2 separate regions of the Homo sapiens genome follow, and region 1 is linked to region 2. Evidence: promoter capture Hi-C in 16 types of primary human blood cells and fetal thymus (Javierre and others, 2016). All regions are on one chromosome and are shown on one strand. The core of a region is centred on a gene start or on the middle of the fragment in contact, and the rest is flanking DNA. Distances in the headings are between cores, read along the strand shown.

What was found. The method cuts DNA at HindIII sites, captures the fragments that hold promoters and counts their contacts. A CHiCAGO score of 5 or more calls a contact.
Region 1: a fragment that was not itself captured here is called in contact with the fragment with the promoter of MMS22L in region 2 in 4 of 17 cell types (non-activated CD4 T cells, naive CD8 T cells, naive B cells and 1 more); the score reaches 6.5 in non-activated CD4 T cells.

What each region holds. Positions count from the first base shown.
Region 1 is chr6:96,503,214-96,508,669 of GRCh38, forward strand. The region is part of intron 1 of UFL1-AS1 (UFL1 antisense RNA 1); the gene reads right to left. Among named protein-coding and RNA genes, the nearest start is that of UFL1-AS1, 16 kb to the right of the region's middle. The HindIII fragment of the contact is 5,498 bases long and covers 1-4,529 here.
Region 2 is chr6:97,281,791-97,286,814 of GRCh38, forward strand. It overlaps MMS22L (MMS22 like, DNA repair protein), which reads right to left and starts at 1,426. Exons shown (of 25, transcript NM_001350599.2): 1 at 1,306-1,426; 2 at 524-763. The coding sequence starts at 687. RefSeq lists enhancers at 1,003-1,262, 1,643-1,702. The HindIII fragment of the contact is 13,882 bases long and covers 1-5,024 here.

The sequences.
Region 1 (5,456 bases), core at 531-3,030, 780 kb before region 2:
TGGCTATGGATTTTTCACAACTGGAAAAAGAGATTAAGCTGCAGATTCAGATAGTATTAGGAATCCCAAAAAAGGATATATACAAAGAAAGCTACACATAGCACATTATAGTGAAATCAATGAAAAACAAAGAAAAATTAGAAAATCATAAGATCATCTATAGGGAAGGAAAAGAGACTACCTTGATGGGAATCATAATCAGAATCATAATTGCCTTTTCAATAAAAACTACGAAGCCAGAAGACACTGAAATGTATTTTCAAAGTACCAAAAGAAAATAACTGCCAATCTAAAATTCTATAGTCAATGAAAATGTCTTTGAGGAACAAAGTCAAACTAGGATATTTGCAGACCACAACAATAGCATCTGTTGTCAGTAGACCCACTGACATTGCTGGTAGATTCCTCTAATGGAAATATTAAAGGAATGATTACCTCTAGATAGAAAGAAAGCCATAGTGATTGGAAGATGGCATGAGGGAGCTTCTTGGCAATGACAGAATTTTATTGACCTAGTTGCAGCATGTGTTTACTTTGTAATAGTTTGTTGAGATTCACCCTTGTGACTTGTGCACTTTGTGTGGATGAGTTAAACAAAACTATAAATGAACTGGATGTGATCTGAACAAAATATCCAGAGAGCAACAGGAGGAAATAAACAGATGGATAAAATGAAGGACAGATTTAAAGACACCATGGCTAGAAAGTCCAGTAACAGTTACAAAAGGGAAGAATTGAGAAAATGAAGGAGGCACAGTATTCAAAGAGATAATGGCTGGGAAAATAAAAGAAAAGCCAGAAAACTCTCTAAAGTGCTGAAAAAAATAGTCATCAATCTAGAATTCTATACCACGCCAATTTACCCATCCAAATAAGAGTGAAATAAAGACATTTGCACTCATTCATTCATTCACACAGTTTGTTGTTGTTCAACAATTCTTATTGAGCACTTACACTGTCTAGGCATAGGGACTACCATTAACAAAAGCAATTTAAGTCCCCATTCTCAGAATTCTAGAGGTCGGAGCCTGAAATGGAGCTCATGGGATTAAAACAAGGGTGTCAGCAGGGCTGATTTCTTCTTCTTTTTTTTTTTTTTTTTTTTTTTTTTTGAGATGGAGTCTCGCTCTGTTGCCCAGGCTGGAGTGCAGTGGCACGATCTCGGCTCACTGCAAGCTCCACCTCCCGGGTTCACGCCATTCTCCTGCCTCAGCCTCCCGAGTAGCTGGGATTACAGGCACCCGCCACCGTGCCCGGCTAATTTTTTCTATTTTTTTGGTAGAGACGGGGTTTCACCGTGTTAGCCAGGATGGCCTCGATCTCCTGACCTCGTGATCCGCCCGCCTCAGCCTCCCAAAGTGTTGGGATTACAGGCATGAGCCACCACGCCCAGCCAGGGCTGATTTCTTTTGGAGTCTCCAGGAGGAGTCTGTTCCTTGATCCTTCCAGCTTTTAGACTTAGTATTCATTGAACTGTGGCCACATCACTACATGCTCTGCTTGCTTCAGTCATCGATTGCTTTCTCTCCAACTCTGACTTCTCCTGCATCCCTTTTATAAGGATCACTGTGATTACATTGAGACCACTCAGATAATTGAGAATAATCTCCCCATCTCAACACATTTAACTTAATCACACCTGCAAATTTTATTTTGTCATATAAGGTAACATTCACAGGTTCTGAGTATTAGGATATGGACATCCTTGGGGGACAATTATTCAACCTGCCACAATATGTACGCATTTCTGTTGGATTTTACCTAGGGGTATAAGCTGTTTATTATGTTCAGCATTAGTTGATGATACCAAATAATGTTTCCAAATTGTTGTATTTACTTATATTTCCACCAGCAGTGTTTCACATACTCATCAATACTTGTTACTGTCAGTCTTTTTAATTTTAGCCATTCTGGTAGATTTGATGCTGGACAAATATAGACTATAATAGTTTTACTACTAATAGCCTTTTGCAGAAAAAACTACTAACAAGTCCACCTTAGTTTTTTACAATGAAAAAATAAAACCAAGAAAGAAAGAAATAGTAGATGAAAAATAAAACATAGAGGAAAATAGATGTTAAACTTTGGATAAATTTACAATGAATTTGGGGAGTAAAAAATAATAGAATAAAGTTTAAAAATTATTTAAGTGGAAAGGGTAAAGTTTTCTAAGATCCTTACATTGTTTAAGAGGAGAGTAGATAAAGCCTAATGAAAAAATAAGAGGAAGAAACTAACTTTGCCAGGACTGAAGAAGAAGGAAAGGGTATTTCAGAAAGGTAAAACATTCTTTGCAAATATTCCGTGCCCTGAAAGAATCTGGCATATTTCCAGAAGGGCAACAATGTGGCATGTGGCTGAATGCCAGCCTTCATGAAGGGTGCTGAGGAGATTAGGCTGCAATCGGGACACTAATTTGGGGATAGATTGGGTTGGGCTATTTCAGGAGATTTTTAGGAGTCTATACTTCATTTATTTGACCACTAGTCATTAACATTTTAGAACACACAAAACATTTTAAATGATTTTAAAAGCACAAATGGCATCACTTGAATTACATTCAATATAATTATGGTTTTAATATAAATATAAAATGTAAACTGGAATCCTCAAAACAGTTAAATAGCAATTGTAATAATCCATGTATAAAGTGGCAATTTAATATTTCACCTCAAGGCACTGTGCTATATATATCTGTCGGTATAAAAATTAATGACATTGGCTGGGCACGATGGCTCATACCTGTAATCCCAGCACTTTGGGAGGCCAAGGCGGGCAGCTCACCTGAGGTCAGGAGTTCGAGACCAGCCTGATCAACATGGAGAAACCCTGTCTCTACTAAAAATACAAAATTAGCCAGGCGTGGTGGCACATGCCTGTAATCCCAGCTACTCAGGAGGCCAAGGCAGGAGAATCGCTTGAATCTGGGAGGTGGAGGTTGCAGTGAGCTGAGATCTCGCCATTGCACCCCAGCCTGGGCAACAACAGAGAACTCCATCTAAAAACAAAACAAAAACAAACAAACAAAACTAATACATTGTACCTAAACACAAGTAACACGTAAGTCAAGTTGCTGGTGGTTGCAAAGAGAAGGAAAAGGAAGTGAAGGATGTCAGATATTAGAGGCAAAGAACCTTTGGGATTCAGGAAGTACTAGGAGATTCCCCTGGTGGTTGGTTCTCCTGCATACCTAGCTCCTCCCCAACACACACACACACACACACACACACACACACACACACACACACACACGATGTCAGTTTCCATTATTTGGCTCGTATGTTATTGAACAAATATCTTCAGGAAAAAAAAGAAGTGTGGATTTAGAACATGATTTCATGCTGCCTGTTGAGAGTATTTCTCTCTCTGTCTGTCTCTCTCTCTTTAAAGAAAAGATCTCACTCTGTCACCCAGGCTGGAGTGCAATGGGCTGATCATGGCTCACTGTAGCCTTGAACCCTTGGGCTCAAGCAATCCTCCCACCTTAGCCTCCTGTAGCTACGACTACAGGCACGTGCTACCATATCCATATCCAGCTAGGTTTTTTTGTTTTTTGTTTTGTTTTGTTTTGTTTTTTGTAGAGTTGGGGGTCTCACACTTTTGCCCAGGCTTGTCTTGAACTCCTGGCCTTAAGCAATCTTCACTCCTTGCTCTCTCAAAGTGCTAGGATTACAGGTCTGAGCCAATGTACCTGGCCTTCCTTTTTCTTTAAGATGTTAAGGTATCAAATTTCTGAAACCAATCCCATAAATAATTAGTAATAATCTAAGACTTCTAAAGATGTTTTTATTGCATGTTGTTTTTTCTACCAAATTATCCAAAGAAAGCTGTCATAGACAGAAGTTAAATGTATCAACCCCCTATACCCTTATTATGACTTTTCCTGGTACAGTTATAGACTTGAATCTCAATTCTGCCTCTGGTATTGGAATCACGGGCTCAGATAGAACCACTGAATCTTTTTCCCGCCATATTCCTATCTATTGTTGCATGTATGATTTGTTTGAAAAATGACTGTCTCATATTGCAAAAGAGCACAGATGTGCCTCCTCTTTCTCAGTTATAATGATGAAAATCCCCAGTAAGCAATTATTTTGTGAATGAATTTTATAGAATGCCAATTCATGCTGCAAAACTAATTCGTCCTTCTGTTAACAACAAGCATCACCCAAATGTCCCCCCACCTGCCAGAATAAGTACTATGACAAATACAAGATTTTAAAAAAGCAACATGCTTACCAAGTTCTGAAGAAGTATTCAATCATAGCAGTATTACAGATTTTCATGAGGAAAATCCATTAGGCTTTAATATGTTGCAGTATATAACAATCTAGAACATTATACTTTTACAGTATTTCAAAGAAGCAATCTTGTTATACAGTTGTTTCCATTTTAGAAAAAGCAATTGGAAATTTCTAACTTAACTTATGAAACATTATGCGTACCTTAAGGAGTTCATTATGTCATTATTGGCCCTTTGTTTCCTGATTCATTATTTATAACTAAATGCTGAAAGATATAAAAGAAGAAGCTTTACAGTTGGTTGGTATAAATGGTCAAAAGTTTTTTTAAAAACTCAATGTTTTCTATTATATTTAGGATTTGGTCTAAACTCTGAGTTTTCTAACAAATAAAAAATCAGAAAAGTTCTTGATGCATTATTACATACAAAATGAATAGTCTGTAATTACTTTACCTACAATATCACCACCATCACCTCCACCAAGATAATCAGTGTATGAACATCCTTACTTTTCTACCCCATGTCTGAAAGGAAGAAATTTATTTTCTGATATCCAAGCTCAATCCATCTATATTAGTTCTCTGTGGCTGCTGTAACAAATGACCACACACTTGGTGGCTTAAAACAACAGAAATTTCTTCTTTCCTTGCCTCTTTCAGCTTCTGGGGGTGCCCAGTGTTCTCTGGCTTGAGGCAACATCATATCACCTTCTCCTCTTCTGTGTATCTGTCCTCTCTGTGTCTGTCTCACAACTGTCTCTCCTTCCTTATAAGGATACATGTGATTGTATTTAGGACTGACTCAGATAATCCAGGATAAACATTTCCTCTCAGAGCCTTGACTTTATCCCATCCTTTATAATATAAGGTAAAAATCACAAGTTTTGGGAATTTGACATGGAGGTCTTTTGGTGCTTTTTTTCTTTTTGAGACAGGATCTGGCTCCGTCATCCAGGCTGGAGTGCATGGGACAATCTTGGCTCACTGCAACCTCCGCCACCTGGGCTCAAGCCATCCTCCCACCTCAGCCTCCCAAGTAGCTGGGGCTACAGGCATACAACATCACACTTCACTAATATTTGTATTTTTTGTAGAGACAGGATTCACCATGTTGCTGAGGCTAGTCTCAAACTCCTGAGTTCAAGCAATCCACTCACCTTGGCCACCGAAAGTACTGTGATTACAGGCATGAGCCACCATGCTCAGCCTGATGC
Region 2 (5,024 bases), core at 176-2,675:
AAAATAGTTTCCTCACTGAAACTGCCTCAGCAGGTATTACCAAAATATTTCAAGAACAGTTTTACTGTAATATATATGTACCTGCCCAAGGCAAAATAAGTCTATACACTTCTATATGTGCAGGTAGGATTAGAAGGAACAGGGGCAATAAAAAATGTTTGTCTCTCTTAAATATTACTGGAAAGCTCTAGAATATTATCACACTCTTTAGAAGGAAATACTACTGCAAAAGGCTCAGATAGTTAGGAATTCATTTTAAGTAGAAGAAAAATTAGTGCCCAGCTCCCTACAGTAAGGGAACATCAGTTACCAAGGAAGTTTTCCCTAATACCCCAAATACTTTAGATATGCCCTTACCAAGAAGCCAGCAGAACTGATAATCATTTGTACCCTTATGATATACTAAGCTGATTTATAAAACACGACTTGGTGAACACCAAAGTTTAATGGGCTGAAATAACTAACATTCCTAAAAAACTGGTGAATAATCAGATGAGGGAAAATGTCTCTGAGTTTTACCTACCGCTTAAGGGCTCCGCTGCAGAGGTAGGATTCTCCAGAAAAATGTTTTCCTCCTCCTCTGTTGTCAACAGCACAAGAAAAGTAAGGAGGTTTGCACCATTCCGTCCCCAGCTCCAGCTCTAAGCTGTCAGTCAGGAACGTCGATGCAGCAGAACAGTTCTCCATTGTTTACTTCATGTTCTGAAACACTTGGGGTTCGTCGTATCATTAAGGGCTCCAAAGAGAAGGTGTGAAGAGATTCCTGTTGGGGGGGGGGGGGTGGGGCCGAGAGAGTGGGGATTACTTCAGAAAGTTCTCAAGACGTCCGCCAGCAGGAAGGAAAAACAAACGAACAAACCCAGAGGCCAAATTCCCAATTCCCCCTCGCCCTCCGTCCATCAAGGCTGTCAGAACTTAAGACAAAATGCACAACCAACTGGCTGTGGCAGGGACCTCGAAATCCGGCCACTAAGTCGGGCTCTGCAGCCCAGGACAAGGTGAAAAGCAAAGAAATGTCTGCAGGACATAGCGTCCCGGGCTTGCCTAGAACTGCGCCCTCCGCAACGTTTCTAAACCACTCTCCGCCCGTTTCCCAGCAGCAGGGTGGAGAACGCTCCCTCCCCGGCTCGGGGTGGAAATTAGGAAAGCAACCCCTAGGGCCAACCCCGACCCTCCAAGGAGGAGGCGAGACCCACCAGGCCCACGCCTGGCAGCACTCGGGCGGAGAAGGCGGGGTGCCGGTATCCCGCGTACCCGGCTGCAGCAAGGACCCGGGGCGTCGGTTACCCGCGGTGCCTGTCGTACCCGCTCACATTTCCAGCTCCCGAAACCTGCCTCCTGTGACCCAGACCACCAACAGGAATCTTTGGGGTCTAAACCGCAAACAGGCGAAATTCCCGCCACCGCGCGCCCGCGCTCCGGAAAGGCGGGGCCACGGCGCAGCCCTCCCCCGGCTACCAATCGCCTCGCGATATCTGCGCGGAAACAGTCGGAGCCCCACGAATTCTCGCGAGAGTCCGTCAGTCCGGGACGAGGTACTGAGAAACTTTTTTTTTTGTACCTTTAATTGGTGCGTTCGGCTGAAAGGCGGGGCCTGGTAAAAAAAAAAAAACAGAACTGCTGCTGAGGCGGAGGAGAGGACTTAAGGACTATGGGTTTATCCTCTGGCCGGACCAAAGAGAAGATATTTACTCCAGTGAGTGCGAAGTGAGTGCCTCGTTCACACCCACAGTCGCGCCGTCCCCTCTTCCCGCTCTGGGGCCAGCAACTCTTGTTAGAATGCAGATGCCTTTTGTCCATGGACTGTGAGGCAGGCAAGTGCAACAATTAATTTTCTCTGTAACAGATGGAACAAGTAGACAGAAAATTAGTATGGATATGGAAAACTTGGAAAGCACTAACCAACTTGACCTAATTGACGTTTATAGGTGACCAACCCAACAATAGCAGAATACACACTCCTGTCAAGTGCACATGAAACATTCACTAAGCGATACCATATTCCGAGCCATAAAACAAATGTCATCAACTTTAAAAAGATTTAAATCGTACAAAGTGTATAGTCTGATCATAATGGCATTAAACTAGAAATAAAGTAGATACTTGAAATACTCTAAATATTTGGAAATTAAGAATCATACTTCTAACTAACCTGTGAATCAGGAAAAATCACAGGAAAATTAGAAAATACGTTGAATTAAATTAAAATGAAAACACTAAAATTTGTAACAGTACCTGCTTACATTAAAAAGAAGAACTCAATTCAATAAACTTTTGTCTTAAGTAACTAGAAAAAACCCCCAGCATATTGAAACCAAAGCAAGCAAAATGAATGAAATGATAAATAGTAGAAATAAATGGGATGAAATAAATGGAAGGAAATACATGCAAAAGTTGTTTTTCTAAAAGAGCAATATAATTGATAACCCCCCTACCCAAACTGATAAAGAAAATAAACAAATTATCAGTATCAGGAATTAAAAAGGTTTCATCACTATGAAATTTAGTCATTAAAAGGACAAGGATATTAAAAGAACATTATGAACATTTTTATGCCAATAAGCATAGGTGAAATGGACAAATTCCTTAAAAGACGCAAACTGTCAAAAATCAACAAAAGAAGAAAATTTGAGTATCTCTGTATTTATCGTAGTACTCAGAATCTTTGGTTAAGCCTCCCTCCTCTCTCTCTGCACACACACACACACACACACACACACACACACACACACACCACTTCTTACAAGAAAACTTCAGGCCAGGGCAGGCACAGTGGCTTTGGGAGGCTGAAGTAGGTGGATCCCTTGAGACCAGGAGTTCCAGACCAGCCTGGGCAACATGGTGAAACCCTGTCCCTTGTCTCCACAAAAAAAATACAAATATTAGCCAGGCGTGGTGGTGCTCATCTGTAGTCCCAACTACTTAGGGAGGCTGAGGTGAGAGGATCACTTGAGCTGGAGAGTTCGAGGCTGCAGTGAACTGTGAGTGTGCCATTGTACTCCAGCCTGGACAACAGAGCAACACCATTTCTCAAAAGCAACAAAACAAACAAACACTCTCCAGGCCAAATGGCCTTACTATTAAATTCTCCCAAACATTTAAGGAAGGAGTAATACCAATTCTATACTAACTCTTAGAGAAATTAGGAGATTGGATGCTTGTTTTATGAGGCTAGCACCACACTGGTATCGAAACCTGACAAAAGACAATTACAATACAATATCACATGCAAACATAAAAGCAGAAATGTTAGCAAGCAAAATCCAGCAGTACATAAAAAGGATGACATATGATGGCAAGGTGCAGTGGCTCACGCCTGTAATCCCAGCACTTTGGGAGACCAAGGCGGGTGGATCACTTGAGGTCAGGAGTTCAAGACCAGCCTGGCCAACATGGTGAAACCTCGTCTCTACTAAAAATACAAAAATTAGCCGGGTATGGCGCCATGTGCCTGTAGTCCCAGCTACACAGGAGGCTGAGGCAGGAGAATCGCTTGAACCCGGCATGGGGAGGTTGCAGTGAGCCGAGATCGCGCCACTGTACTCCAGAACAAGACTCCGCCTCAGAACAAACAAACAAAAAGGATGACATATGACAAGAAAATTAGATTCATGTTAGGAATGCAAGGTTATTCAAATTTCTACAAGTAATCAGTTCATTATATCAAGTCTATAAAAAGAAAAACTGTCATCTCAATAGACACTGAAAGATCACTTGATAAATTCAACATCTATTCATGATAAAAACTCTCTGCCAACTAAGAATGGAAGAAAACTCCCTACCTTATATGTGATATCTATGACAAACCTGCTATTAATATCATACTTAGTTATAAAAATGTATGTTCTTTTCCTAAGATTGAGAAAAAGGCAATGATGTCCACTTTTTCCACTTCTCTCAACATTTTACTGGAGGTAACTAGTCAATGCAATAAGGAAGATGAAGAAATAAATGTCATATAGATTGAATAAGAAGAAGTAAAACTGTCTTGATTTTCAGATGACATAATTATTCATATAGAAAATCCTAAAAAAATCTCTACAAATATATATAAAAACTATGAGTTCAGCAAGGTGGCGGGGTTCAGTGACACACAAAAATTAATTGTATTTTATAGACATGAAAAGACAATTTGAAAATTAGAGTTTAGAAAACAACACCATTTAATGACATAAACAAGGTTTAAATTTAACAAAATATGCGTCAGATTTTGTTTGCCAAGGATTCCAAAATATTGCTGAAAAAAATTCAAGAATATTCAAGTAAATAGAATGAGATAGCATAATCATAAATTGGAAGACTCAATATTATTAAAAGTTCTTCTGAAGTTTATCTATGGCTTCAAAGGACTGCCAATCAAAATCCTAATCCCAGAGAACTTTCTTTTGTAGAAATTGACAAATGCATTCCAAAACTGATATGGAAATGCAAAGGGCCTAGATTAACCGAAACAATTTTGAGTAAGAATAGTGTTGAAAGAATTCCAGTACCTAATTTCAGGACTTGCCATTAAGTTACAATAATCAAAACAGTATGATTTTGATCTAAGGGTAGACATAGCCAGTGGAAAAGAATAGAGACTCCAGTAACAGGCCCCCATACACGTTTGATCAGCTGCTTTTTGGCAAAGGTAATTCCATGGTGAAAGGATAGTCTTTTCAACAAATAGTGAGAGAACTATTGGATACTGATACACTTAAAAATGAACCTACCTCATATTATAAAATTTAACCCAGTAAGGATCATAGACCTACATGTAAAAGCTAAAACTCTTAAAAACTTTTAGATATTCAGCTTGCTAGTAATCAAGAAAATGCCAGCAAAGAAAAGCAAGAAATAAGGCTAGTCCACAGAAGAAAAATCAAGTGTGTGTGGTATGGTATGATGTCTGTCATGAAATCCAAGAGAAGTATTTTATGAAAGAATGGGTAAGCTAATAAAGGAAAACAGATTAATCATTGGTATTGGCAAGAAATAGGTCATTACTAATGTTGATAAAAGCTGTTTAAGTTGAGTAGTTGGGG